2 separate regions of the Homo sapiens genome follow, and region 1 is linked to region 2. Evidence: promoter capture Hi-C in 16 types of primary human blood cells and fetal thymus (Javierre and others, 2016). All regions are on one chromosome and are shown on one strand. Each heading gives the region's core, a stretch centred on a gene start or on the middle of the fragment in contact. The rest is flanking DNA. Distances are from core to core; before and after follow the strand shown. Region 1 holds the start of LOC124903666 (a long non-coding RNA gene). Region 2 holds the start of IGSF6 (immunoglobulin superfamily member 6).

Region 1 (6,213 bases), core at 1,042-3,541, 540 kb before region 2:
AGGAAAAAAGGGGCAGGGCCAGGGCCTGGAGGGAGGGTCATGGACGTAGGAAAGATTCAGGGGGCGGGACAGAGGCGTGACCAGGACTCAGAAGGCGTGCCCAAACATGGAAGGGCGGGAAGGGGCGTGGCTATGACATGAAGGCGGGGTTAGGCCTGGAGAGCGGCTCAGGACTAGGCTCTGAAGTCAGGGGGCGGGGAAGAGGCGTGCCCAAGCCGTGAAGCAGGGGCGGGGTTATAAAACGGGGGCGGGGCTAGGTCTGGAGGTCTGCTCAGGGGCTAGGCCAGGAAATCAGTGAGCGGGGAAGAAGGCGTGCCCAATTTGAAGGGCGGGTCAAGGGCGTGGTCAAAACATGGAAAGAGACTCGGGGCTACGCGTCTGGGCCGACCAGGGACGTGGCCAGGATTCAGGGGGCGGAGCAGGAGCGTGCCCACTTCGGAGGGCGGGGCGGGACAGGACAGGGGCGGGGCCAAAACACAGGAAGGGCGCAAGGCAAGGTCTGGGAGTAGATAGGGGCGTGGCCAGAAGTCGGCGGTCCGGGCTAGGTCTGGAGAGCGGCTCGGGGGCGTGACCAGGATTCAAGGGGCGGAGCGGAGGCGCGCTCAAACCCAGAAGGCGGGGCAGGGGCTGGTACAAGCCCAGGGAGCCGGGCGTGGGCGAGGGTGCAGCGGGGCCGACCCTAGCGGGCGGCGGACGGCGGACGGTCACAGGCGCTCCACGGCGGCGTGCAGAGGCTGCAGGCCTAGGAAGTGCAGGGCCAGGGCGAGCAAGCCGAGGAACAGCAGCAGCCTGAGCAGCAGGCGCAGGAGGGTCCGCGCCGTGGAGCCGCGGGGCCGCCGGGTCGTGGACTGCACGTATAGCTCCACGGCGTCGGCGAACCTAAACTTATCCGGCGCGTAGCCGAGCTGGGCGCGGGCCTTGGCTATCTGGAAGGTGTGCGTCACGGCCACGCTGCGCACCTGCGGGGACAGGCGGGGCATCCGAGGGCGGGCCTCGTGGGAGGAGGACATCCTCTACTTCGTTGTTTACGGAAAGGGAAAAGAGAGGGCAGGGATTTCCCCTCCATTACATAGTGATTTAAAAGGACCCGAGTGCAGCGTCTTGCTCCTGCGATGCCCTCATTAGAGAGGTCTTCCTTTCTTCCTTACATGTTCATTTTTATTGGAGGGTGCCGCCTTTGCGTCGCCCCCTCCAGCCCCGCTGAATTCGCACCCTATTTAACTCCTTGGTCCCTAAGAAGCAAAGGTCTCACCCCTACACTCATCTTCCCGGCCTAGCACGGTGCTGGGACTCAGGAGGCCCTTGATACATTCTTAGGCATCCGCTAGGAGAAGGTGAACGCCTGCCAGAAACATCTGCAGGAAACGACCTTGGCTTCCTGCCCCCAACCCCAGACCAACTGTGACCAGGAGGGCCCCAGTCGCAGCCTTCATGCCCTCGCTTATTAACTAAGCTTCCCTAAGAGAGGAATTCGATTATGCAGAACTGATTGCTCTCCAGGGTCTAAGCTGTGTTTCCCCTGCTGCCAGATGGCTTGGGGCCCACTGGTTTGAAGGGTAGTAATGATAGCTATCAGCAGTTAAGGAACACACACCCTGCATTTGGCCTGGACTAAATCCTTTCTATGCCCTACCTCATTTAATCCTCTCAGGTGGTACTAGCACTATCTGTTCTGTGCATACTTGGAAAAAGGTCAGAGAGGTTGAGTGACTTGCCTGGGGTCGCACAGGGGAGCCAGGTTCTAGCCTAATTTCTTCTCTGCTGTGCTGGCACCTGGAGATGTTCTCCCACCTGACTCATTTCTTCCTCTCTTTTTCCTCAGCCGGACCCTGGGGAAGAATCCACCAGCTGCTGGATTCTCCCATGGCATTGAAACAGCCCCTGGGGTCAAACCTGTGGTCTTGGATGCTTAATGGGGGGTGAGGAGAGAGGCCAGTATTTGTCCCTTTTTTTCCTAGTCAGTAAGTGCAGGGCTTTGGGGAGCACAGGAGTTGAGTTACGCTAGATAAGCAGGGTCCCTAATACACCTAGATGTCTCTAGATGTCACCTCTGGGAAGCTTTCTCTGACTTCCTCAGAGTTGGCTGAGGCGCCCCTTCTGTGTGCACTGGAGTTTCTCGCGATTTTCCCAAGAATGGCTCTAATTACAGTGTTGAGTTGCCTGGTTAGTGGGCTGTCTTCCCCTTTGAACTAGGAGCTCCCTAAGGGCAAGGACTATGTCTTCTTGCCTCCGTTGCTCAGCACAGTGCCTGGTAACATTTATGTTAAATGCATAAAAGGCTATAAAGTCAAACTGGAGGGCTGGTTGATGTGTCACAGATTGACCAGCAGAGGGTACCCGAGCCACAGCCAAGGAACTTCCACAGTTAAGGACATTGCCCCTGAGCTGAACAAGGAAATCCCCAAGTTAAACAAGAGGGAGAGGAGCCAAGTCCCTGCCTGACCACAATTCAGCTGCACCCTGGCAGCTATTTTATGTGGATGTGATTCCTGATGCATTTTCACAAGCTAATGGTTAAGCTTGAAATCACTGAGGTCTGGGTTCAAATCCCAGCTCTACCATTTAAGTGAGTGATCACGGGCAGGTTATTTCACTGTGTGTCTCATTTCCTCCTCTCTAAATGGAGAGGACAATGTTGTCTACAACTCAGTTAAATGAGATAAAGCACAGTGCCTGGCATACTGTCACAACTCAAGAGATTGTCAGTATCATCTTATTCTCTCCTCCACTGATCCGGATGGCTCAAAGGAGAAGCCATAGGTGACTACTTCTTTCTGTGGCCCATTCTCCACTCTCCCCCTCTGACTCCCCTTGTTAAAGAGCACTGAACATGGAGTCTGAAGCCAATTCCAGTATGGTGTGGCCTTGGACAAATAATTTTCCTAGTGCTCAATTTTTCATCATAAAATGGAGATCACGATTTTTTTTTGACCTTTTTAACTTAGCAGGGCATCAGAGACAATAAAACGAGAGTGGACTGGAAGTAATTTTTTTTTTTTTTTTAGATGGAGTCTTGTGCTGTCACCCAGGCTGGAGTACAATGGTGTGGTCTCAGCACACTGCAACCTCCACCTTCCAGGTTCAAGCGACTCTTCTGCCTCAGCATCCCGAGTAGCTGGGACTACAGGTATGTGCCACCACACCCAGCTAATTTTTGTATTTTTAGTAGAGACAGGATTTCACTGCGTTGGCCAGGCTGGTCTCAAACTCCTGACCTCAGGTTATCCACCCGCCTCAGCCTCCCAAAGTGCTGGGAACAAGTGTGAGCCACCGTGCCCGACTGGACTGGAAGGATTTTTGCAAATAACCTCAAATACCACCGATTACTTTGCTATTTACAATCTGTGATGAAAACATCCTCTCTTTTAACTAAGCAAATATAAACCTGCATCATCATTATTATGAGAATAGTATTCTGAGCCAGGCATGGTGGTGCATGCCTGTAATCTCAGCTATTTAGAAGGCTGAGGGGGGAGAATCTTTTTTTTTTTTTTTGGTTTTTAGGGGCAGGATCTCCATCTGTTGCCTAGGCTGGAGTACAGTGGTGCAATCTGCAGCCTTGAACTCCTGGGCTCAAGTAATCCCCCACCTGAGCTGGGACTAAAGGCATGCACCACCTTGCCTGGCTAATTTTAAAATTTTTTGTAGAGATGAGGTCTTGCTATGTTGCCCAGGCTGGTCTCAAACTCCTGGCCTCAAGTGATCCTCCTGTCTCAGCCTCCCAAAGCACTGGGATTATAGGTGCGAGCCACCACACCTGGCCAAGAGGATCTCTTGAGCTCAGGAGTTTGAAACCAGCCTGGACAATATAGTGAGACCCTGTCTCATAAAAATAATTATATTCTGTATGTAGTAGGTACTTAATATATACTCATTATTCAGTAAGCATGAACTATGAGCCTAGGACCACCAGGCTGTTGTGTGTGTGTATGTATGTGTTGAGAGTTGGTGGGATTGGTAGCATTCAAAGAAGTGAATGGCCTGAAACTTGCCTTTGGGAACCTCCAGTCTGGCTGGAAAGACAAGATGCTTATGAATGAAGAAACAGTGATGATGGATAGGCTTGGAGCTGTCACATTTCAGACCCAGAAAGCACAGCCTCAGCAAAAGCCCAGAGGTTGGGGTGATCATAACAGAGCTAGCACCAGCTTTGGGCCCACATGGAAAGTTCTGAGACTTCAGACAAGCATGTGTCATCATGGTGTCAAAGGGGTAAGGAGTGGCAGCAGTGGGGATGGTGGGGAGAGGTAGGAAGGGAGGGATGGGGAGCAGGGCCTAGGTCCCATAACAGCAGCCCACTTACCTCACTACGAGTGAGCAGCGGTGGGAGGCTGCAGATGGGTCTCAGGGCCAGATGGAGGCGCTCCATAACTGCTGCTGCAGGGAAGGAGGGGGCCAGTGACCAGGGGCCTCACATTATGCAAACTCCAGGGAGGCCCTTGGGGACAAATCAATGGGGGACACCATTTGCTTTGCTAGAGGTCACTTTGCAGAAGTCACTGGATTCCTTTAAATCAGCAGCCCTTGCTGGGGTGCCTTGTTTAGCTGTGAAATATGTCACAAGTAACTTGTTTTTAATATTAAATGACCAGGCTGGGTGCAGTGGCTCAAGCCTGTAATCCCAGCACTTTGGGAGGCTGAGGCGGGCGGATTGCCTGAGATCAGGAGTTCGAGACCAGGCTGGTCAACATGGTGAAACCCTGTCTCTACTACAAATACAAAAATTAGCCGGGCGTGGTGGCACATGCCTGTAATCCCAGCTACTGGGGAGGCTGAGGCAGGAGAATCGCTTGTACCCAGGACGCAGAGATTGCAGTGAGCTGAGATTGCACCACTGCACTCCAGGCTGGGCAACATAATAAGACTCCGTCAGAAAAAAAAAAAAAATTGAACGACTGAAGTTTTTAAATAAATCTGAACAGATTCAAAGTTATCCATATAATAATCTCTCTCTCACTTCTACTCCAATGCTCTCTGGAGTAGGAGAGAAAGAGGTTGGAGTAACAGTTCTCAAACTGGGCTGCATGTGGGACCAATTTAAAAATAATACTTGTGAGAACCAGGTGTGGTGGCTCATGCCTGTAATCCCAGCATAAGAGACTGAGGAGGGAGGATCTCTTGGAGCCAGGAGTTCAAGACCAGCCTAGACAACAAAGTGAGACGCCCTCATCTCTAAAAAATTTTTGAAAATAGCCAGGCATGGAGGTGCATGCCTGTTACCTCCACTACTCTGGAGGCTGAAGTGGGAGGATCGCTTCAGGCCAGGAGTTCGATACCAGCTGGGGTAACATAGCAAGACCCCCATCTCTACTAAAGTATAAAAATTAGCTGGGCCTGGTGGTAGGAGCCTGTAGTCCTAGAGGCTTGAGAGGCTGAGGCAGAGAATTGCTTGAGCCCAGGAGGTTGAGTCTGCAGTGAGTTATGATCATGCCACTGCACTCCAGCCTGGGTGGCAGTGCAAGACCCTAACTCTAAAAAAATAAAAAATACTGATGCTTTCCTCCCACTTCCTCCCTGCTAATCCCAATTTAATTGGTCGGTAGTGTGGCTGAGACATTTCTCTATTTTAAAAGCTCCCAGGTGACTGTGCAGTGCAGCCCTGGTTGAGAAGCACTGAATTACTGTTAGCCCACTGGGAACTGGGAACGCCTTTACAATCCTCTCCAAGTGCCATCGGCCGTGGCTCAGGGCCGGGAGTACCAATCACTGCGGCAATGCTGTGCATGAGAAGTTGCCCTGCATGTGTTCCCTGGTGAACAAAAATTTGCAACCCCCTGCTTTTAATGGCAAGCCACTCGATGCATTTAAAACACAAGAGATCCTGCCAAGGAGTCCCTGGAACACAGCTATTTGGGACTGGAGGGCCACCATCCCCTCAGGCTGGTCACTCCATGTCTGAAGGCTGCTCTGCCTTCCAGCTGGGAGGAGGCCATTGTATGGGTGCTGGGGACAGAGGGAAGGGGAGCAGCCAAGACGCATTGTCGGGGGTGGAGGTGGGAGCAGAGACTGACCTTCAGGGACAGGAGGAGAATCTAGGATCAAAATGGAGCCTCCGTTTGTCCTAAAGTAGCCCTAACTTCAGGGTGACCTTGGGGGACAGAACAGCCCCAGGGTTCTCTCTCCTCCTGACTGGCATGAGACCTCCCAGCAGCACCACAAAGAGCCCACCAAGCCCAGTTGTGAATTCCGCCTCTCCGCCTCTCCCGCATTCTC
Region 2 (6,466 bases), core at 3,581-6,080:
GGAGAAAAACATGATTCCATTTACGGGGAAAAAAGCCATTGACACTCAGTAAGCAACACTGCCATCTAGTGGAATGGTGACACACCACCAAGAATTTCAAGACCCGATAGGAAATGTGAGTGGATTTGGTTTCAATTTTCACCACAAAACAGCACTTTTAATAAGCTGGTTTTCAGAGAACTTCAGATTTTTTTGAGAAACTACTTTTTATCTTTAAAATGCATAAATGTATGTGTTTTCTCTGTTTTGGGGGGGTGGTTAAGAATGAGTTGTATTTTTCTTATTAGAGCATAAAGTTCTCTACTTGAAAGTTAGAAAACACTTTGGGGCAACCTGCCTCCTTGAACATCCATCACTTCTGCTTGACAGTCTAACAGCAACCCCTGATTTTAACAGACAGTTTATAAAGAAGCAAAACTCAACTGTACAAGAACGACATTAAGTTTTCTCATTTCCTCTTTCTATTTTTACAATCTATGGTGCTAAGTATTTGTACTTCACTTACTTGAATTCCTGGAAAAAAATCATTAGAACACACCAATAACAATTTTGCATAAATCACATAACCCAACTCTTATTATGACTGCACAGTAACAGTGGAAGATATTGGTGTGAGGATGTGGGAATGCAGTTCTTAATGAATAATAAAGTAATTCTTCAGGTTTTAATTCGCCTTTATACCCAGGTGTTGGAGTGAATGTGTTGATCTGATGACTTCTATGAGCATATAAATGAGAATACTTAATGAAACACCTGGATGAAAAAAGAAATAAAGTAGTGAGGATAACATATTGTTAATAACCACAATCTCATATTGACATTTCTGTTATTACTGAGATTTCAGATTCTGGGTTAAATGCTCTGCTCTTTGGAATATCCACGATGGTTATTGATCTTGCTAATGGGTTCCTCTATGGCAGCATTTCTGGGTTTATGGTTGGAGGCACTCACGGATTCCAGAATGCATGAGTCTGACACGGTCTTCATCAAACCATATTCTTGGCAAATAATAAACTCCTTTAAGGATTTCAGGGAAGAGCCAAGCTCTGGGAGAGAGGTATATAAGTGTAGAGTAAGAAGTTGAATTAAAACATTTTTAGTTGCATTTTGTCAGTAGACAAAACTGAATGTTTCAATTCTGAGAACCTGAGATTGTCCAGAAAAAAACAAAGTTCAGTGTATGGGACATGAGTGATCACAAAGTCAGAACCAGGTTATTTTGCATTTTTCACAGCAGCATTAACTGGGGGGGTGGGGGGAGGGGTCCCTGAAGTTCTGTATCTGAATGAGGCTGGGTTTTTGTTTCTGTTTTTTTTTTTTACTGACTCAGTGTTCACTGCAATTTGCAATAATCTCCCCTTCCCCCAAGTCTGAAGCCTTCCTTCCCCCCTATTCAAATTGTCTGCGTCATTCTCATAATGCTACTATTTGGGTACTCCTGAAGCCAAACCAATAAAAAATGCTAGGGGAGCTTTATATGAATTCAAACATGATGCCAAAGTCATCTCCAAAAAAGTTTATTAGCATGATTAAAAACATTTTCTTGAATAATAACAGAAAGAATTTCTAAACATGAAAGAATATCAGTGGCTATACCTTAAAACCAGTATTTGGAATTGAATGGACAGCTTTATTGCCAGTCTTCAAAAAACAATCCATTGATTGGTTCCATGAAGTCGTGACTATTGCTTTGTCTGGGAATGAGTCCCTACTGCAATTAAGTATAAAAAATATCTTCCATCATAATTGGAGTGTGACCTGCATTGGAGAGTGGCTCTGAGTAAAGAGTTGATAAAAATCCACAAAGAGTTGGGTTTTTGTCTTTTAAAAACATTCCTTTACACACTACAAAGAAATAATTAGTATTTTGGCTTTTTAAATTCCTACATGATATTTAGAATGGCGGTCCCCAAGGGTCCTCCCTTCACGTAATTGTGAACACAGACCCTCTTCCAAGGGCACATCCCGGAGGGTGCGGACTCTGAAGACTTCGACCTCCACGTGTTTATACTGGTTTGAGAACAAAGACAGCGTCATCCAGAACGTAGTAGTCATTATACATGTCGCCTTCACACAGGTATGGTAGTCTGGTGAAAGCTTCGATAACAAAACCAGCTTTTCTGAAAACTTCAGGCAGACTATTCACTTGTTCTTCCCAGTTCTGTCCTTTGATTTCCAAAATTTCTGATGGTTTCTCCCACTTGCCACCTACTAATACAAATAAGAACATTCAGTTAAATTCTTGAACAAACAAGTGATTTAAAGAGGGAAGCAGGGAGGAGCCATATCTACCAAGGACTTGGTACGTTCCAAGCCTGAGGGCTTCATGAGTTACCTCTTTTGTACTTCCCAGGTACTCTTTGAGACAGGTGGGCAGATAAAGAACAGACTCAGAAGGGGTGAAGAACTTGCCCACGCTTGCAAGGTTAATGAGTGTCAGTATGGAAATGTAAGCCCAGGTTTGTCTGGATCCAAGGCCCCACACTGTTATCTTCTCTGACAGTTTTGGGTAGTATCTGCCAATAGACTGACTGCAGGGTGTAATGGTTAATGGGTTTGGAAAACTGGTCATTAAATGCTGGAATACTGAAACAGAGAGCAACATGTAATATCTGAAGGACAGTTTTGGACAAATGCAAGAAAATACCACTGGCATAGTAAACTTATGCAACTTACTACCTAGAGAGATTTATTAGGCTGAAAATAAAAACAGGCTCATGAAGGATTTTAATTTAGAAAAGCAGATCATTGGGGAGTTTTTCTAGGGAAGTTGACTCATTCTTTGCCTTTTCAGAACAATTTCATAAACATTAAGCTCCAGGACCAGAGAGAGATGGAACAGTAGGATGGATACACCGTCCAGCATTTCTTGGACTAGAGATGAAGCCTCTATCAGTCATTTCCAAACCTATGAGCAGGAGATGCCTGGGGGACAAGGGGACTAGGGAAGGTCCTCAAATTCACATACAAACCTGGCACTGACTACAGACACACACACAGAGATGACAGTATATTTAACTTTGGGGGTACTTTTTAGGTGCTATGGTGATACAAAAACTACATACATCTGTTGAAGTGTTAAAACCAGATTGAGGCCGGGCGTGGTGGCACATGCCTGTAATCCCAGCACTTTGGGAGGCCGAGGTGGGCGGATCACGAGGTCAGGAGATCAAGACCATCCTGACTAACACAGTGAAACCCCGTCTCTACTAAAAAAAATACAAAAAAATTAGCTGGGCATGGCAACATGCACCTGTAGTCCCAGCTACTTGGGAGGCTGAGGCAGGAGAATGGTGTGAACCCGGGAGGCGGAGCTTGCAGCGAGCCAAGATCGTGCCACTGCACTCCAGCCTGGGCGACAGAGCGAGACTCTGTCTCAAAAAAAAAAAAAAAAAAAAAAACAAAACAGACTGAGAATAACTTTCTGTTAATGAGAAAATATATCATGAGCAGATGCCAAGGGCACAGACATCATATCATGGTGGGGAGATTTTTCATAATTTTCAGTGGTGCAGATGACGCTCTTCCCATGTCTGGGGAATTGCCTGCCCAGAGTCTGGGAGAGACACAAGGCCTGGGAGCCGCTTTCCTGGCCTGCCGTGCAGCTGAGGCACTGGCACGCAGCCTAAGCCAGGCACACTTGCCCATGCCCTGGAATGGAGAGCCAGTGACCCAGAGTAGTGGGGATGTGAGCTTCTCCTTCTCTGGGGGTGGAGCAATGGCAGTGAGACCAAGGGGCTGGGGCAGTGGTTGAGCGATGCTGACAACAGGGCTGATGGCACCTAGTGTTTGGCAGTGGCAGTAGCATCCTCTTCAGACCTGTTTATGGTGTGATTTGAGGCATTCTTCCTGGCTGTGGACCCCACACAAGATTCACTAGCCCTCCCAGTGACTCTAGGATCTACCTTCAAATGTTTGCATAAATTTCCTTTTAAGTCAGCCTGAGTCTGTTTCTGCTGCTTTACAAAGAAGACCCTTACTGAATCACCACTAAGTGCTGGGGGAGAGGACACAGAGGACAGAGGGCCCACATATTTGTTTCTCAACACATTAAAAGGGGGTCTTTGGGCCAGGCATGGTGGCTCACACCTGTAATCCTAACACTTTGGGAGGCCAAGGCAGGGGGATCGCTTGAGGGCAGGACTAGCCTAGACAACACAGAATCTACAAAAAAAAAAAAAAATTAGCCAGGGGTGGTGGTGCATGCCTGTAGTCCCAGCTACTCAGGAAGCTGAGGCTGCAATGACCTGCAATCTTGCCACTGCATTCCAGCCTGGGTGATAGAGACCCTGTCAAAAAAGGGGGGAAGGCAGGTGTCTTTGGATTCAAAACTGGAGTACAAAAAGTTAATAACAGACAATTTATTTATTCGCTGCATTAGAATGTGTTGTTTACTAACTTTTCTCATCTCTACACAAAGCCACTTCTCCTTCTGCTGTTCTTTGTTCCCAGCAGTTACTGGCCCAGAGTGGCACCCAGAGCAGGTACCCTAGACAGTGACTGAACTGTTCTGAAAAATCCAAGTACGAATTATTTGTCAAACAATACTCCTTCCTGGAAATATGTGCTAGGTGTAAATCAAAATCTCACCCAGAAACATCTAACACCTATGACAACTGTAAAATCCATGGAAAAAAAAAAGATATGCACATTTCTAAATGTGCTCCAGGCCAAAATCTCAATGTTAAATGGTGAAGCCATCCTTGCACAATTTCAAAAAGTTCCTGATTATGGTTCCTTCATAAGAGGTTCCTCTCTTCAGCTCTTCTTCCCTTCTGAAAAAAGAAAGCCAACTTTCCTTTCAAATACACACCCCAACCCGCCCCGGCATACACAGAAATGGGGACTGCGAGCAGAAGCAACATCGCTCGCCATCTGCAAACCAATCTCATTCTATTTTGTGTCGGTAAGGTTCTTTTTCTTCTCCTCCTTCATTTTATTTAAATCAACTGCTATTTTTCACCTAATGCATTTATATTTTAAGCTCCTTCAGATTAATTTTTAAATGTATAACATTATGAAAACTGCCTAAGAGGATAAGTTTCCTTTTTCCCCTGAGAAATAGACAATAAAAAAATAGCTGAGAAAAAGTTTCATATTAACCTTGAAAAGTCTCTTTGCTATTATGCTAATTGGAGACAATCTGACCAAAGGGTTGAAAATATTCTTAAAATCGTAGGTATAAGTTATCAATAATTTAATTATCATACAAACTTGATCTGCACATAGAAAGCAATAAATGATTATTTGCTGAATATTTTCAAAGAACAATTTCTATAAAAGTACTTTTCATTTAAGAAAAAAAAAACTGCCATGACTCCAATAGCCATCCCATAGTATATCTATTTTTAAAATTCTGTCTACTTCTGTTTTTTTATCTATGAAAGAGAAAGGATTTCCAATACATCTAGTAATCTCAGATTTGCCCACACAATTTGGATTATAGGGCAGGGAAGGGGGGAAAGTTCTTAATTTTTTCTCATCTGTGAAGAAATATATCAAAATGTTAATGGGAGTTATTTCAGGCAAAAGGACTATGGGTGACTTTTTGCTTCTACTTTTAATAACCTGTTTTTTGCTAATAAGTATATATTACTTTCATAGACTATTTTAATTAGCATTATTTTAAAGAAGAATTCCTGTCTTTTAGAGATATATTCTGAAAGATGCAGATAAAATGGCTGGGATTTGCTCTAAAATAATATGGGAGTGAGGGAGTAGGTGGGAGGAGAAAAGAAACAAGATTGGGTCGAAGCCATGTGATGGCAGGGGGTTGACTGTACTACTTCGCTACTTTGATATGTTAGAAATTTGAAATCTAATATAATAAAGCTTTGGGCTGGGCGTGGTGGTTCATGCCTGTAATCCCAGCACTTTGGGGGCCAAGGTGAGAGGATCACTTGAGCTCAGGAGTTCAAGACCAGCATGAACAACATAATGAGACCCCCATTTCTACACAAGAAAAAAAAATAGCTGGGCGTGATGGCACCTGCACTGCACCTGCAGTCCCACCCACCTGGGAGGCTGAGGCAGGAGGATCACTTGAGCCCAGGACTTTCAGGCTATAGGGAGCTGTGATTGTGCCACTGCACTCCAGCCTGGGCAACAGAGCAAGACATTTACTTACTTCTTACTTACTAGATAGAGAGACAGCTTTGTTTAAATGTCAAGAATTAGTTCTCTTCCTACTTTCAATATGGCTTTTTTGTTTGTTTGAGACGGAGTCTCGCTCTGTCACCCAGGCTGGAGTGCAGTGGCAAGATCTCGGCTCACTGCAAGCTCCGCCTCCCGGGTTCACGCCATTCTCCTGCCTCAGCCTCCCGAGTAGCTGGGACTACAGGCATCTGCCACCACACCCGGCTAATTTTTTGTATTTTTAGTAGAGACAGCGTTTCACCGTGTTAGCCAGGATGGTCTCGATCTCCTGACCTCGTGATCCGCCCGCCTCGGCCTCCCATAATGCTGG

What was found. The method cuts DNA at HindIII sites, captures the fragments that hold promoters and counts their contacts. A CHiCAGO score of 5 or more calls a contact.
Region 1: a fragment that was not itself captured here is called in contact with the fragment with the promoter of IGSF6 in region 2 in 14 of 17 cell types (M1 macrophages, total CD8 T cells, naive CD4 T cells and 11 more); the score reaches 11.3 in M1 macrophages.

What each region holds. Positions count from the first base shown.
Region 1 is chr16:22,184,885-22,191,097 of GRCh38, reverse strand. It overlaps SDR42E2 (short chain dehydrogenase/reductase family 42E, member 2), which reads right to left. Exons shown (of 13, transcript NM_001394319.2): 12 at 4,304-4,377; 13 at 1-959. The coding sequence ends at 705. LOC124903666 (a long non-coding RNA gene) reads left to right here and starts at 3,086. Exons shown (of 2, transcript XR_007065028.1): 1 at 3,086-3,127. RefSeq lists enhancers at 1-31, 287-786, 5,369-5,868 and silencers at 492-591, 732-781, 872-961. The HindIII fragment of the contact is 461 bases long and covers 2,061-2,521 here.
Region 2 is chr16:21,650,972-21,657,437 of GRCh38, reverse strand. It overlaps IGSF6 (immunoglobulin superfamily member 6), which reads left to right and starts at 4,830. Exons shown (of 6, transcript NM_005849.4): 1 at 4,830-4,906. The coding sequence starts at 4,840. METTL9 (methyltransferase 9, His-X-His N1(pi)-histidine) reads right to left here. Exons shown (of 5, transcript NM_016025.5): 5 at 1-2,211. The coding sequence ends at 2,006. The HindIII fragment of the contact is 3,735 bases long and covers 2,100-5,834 here.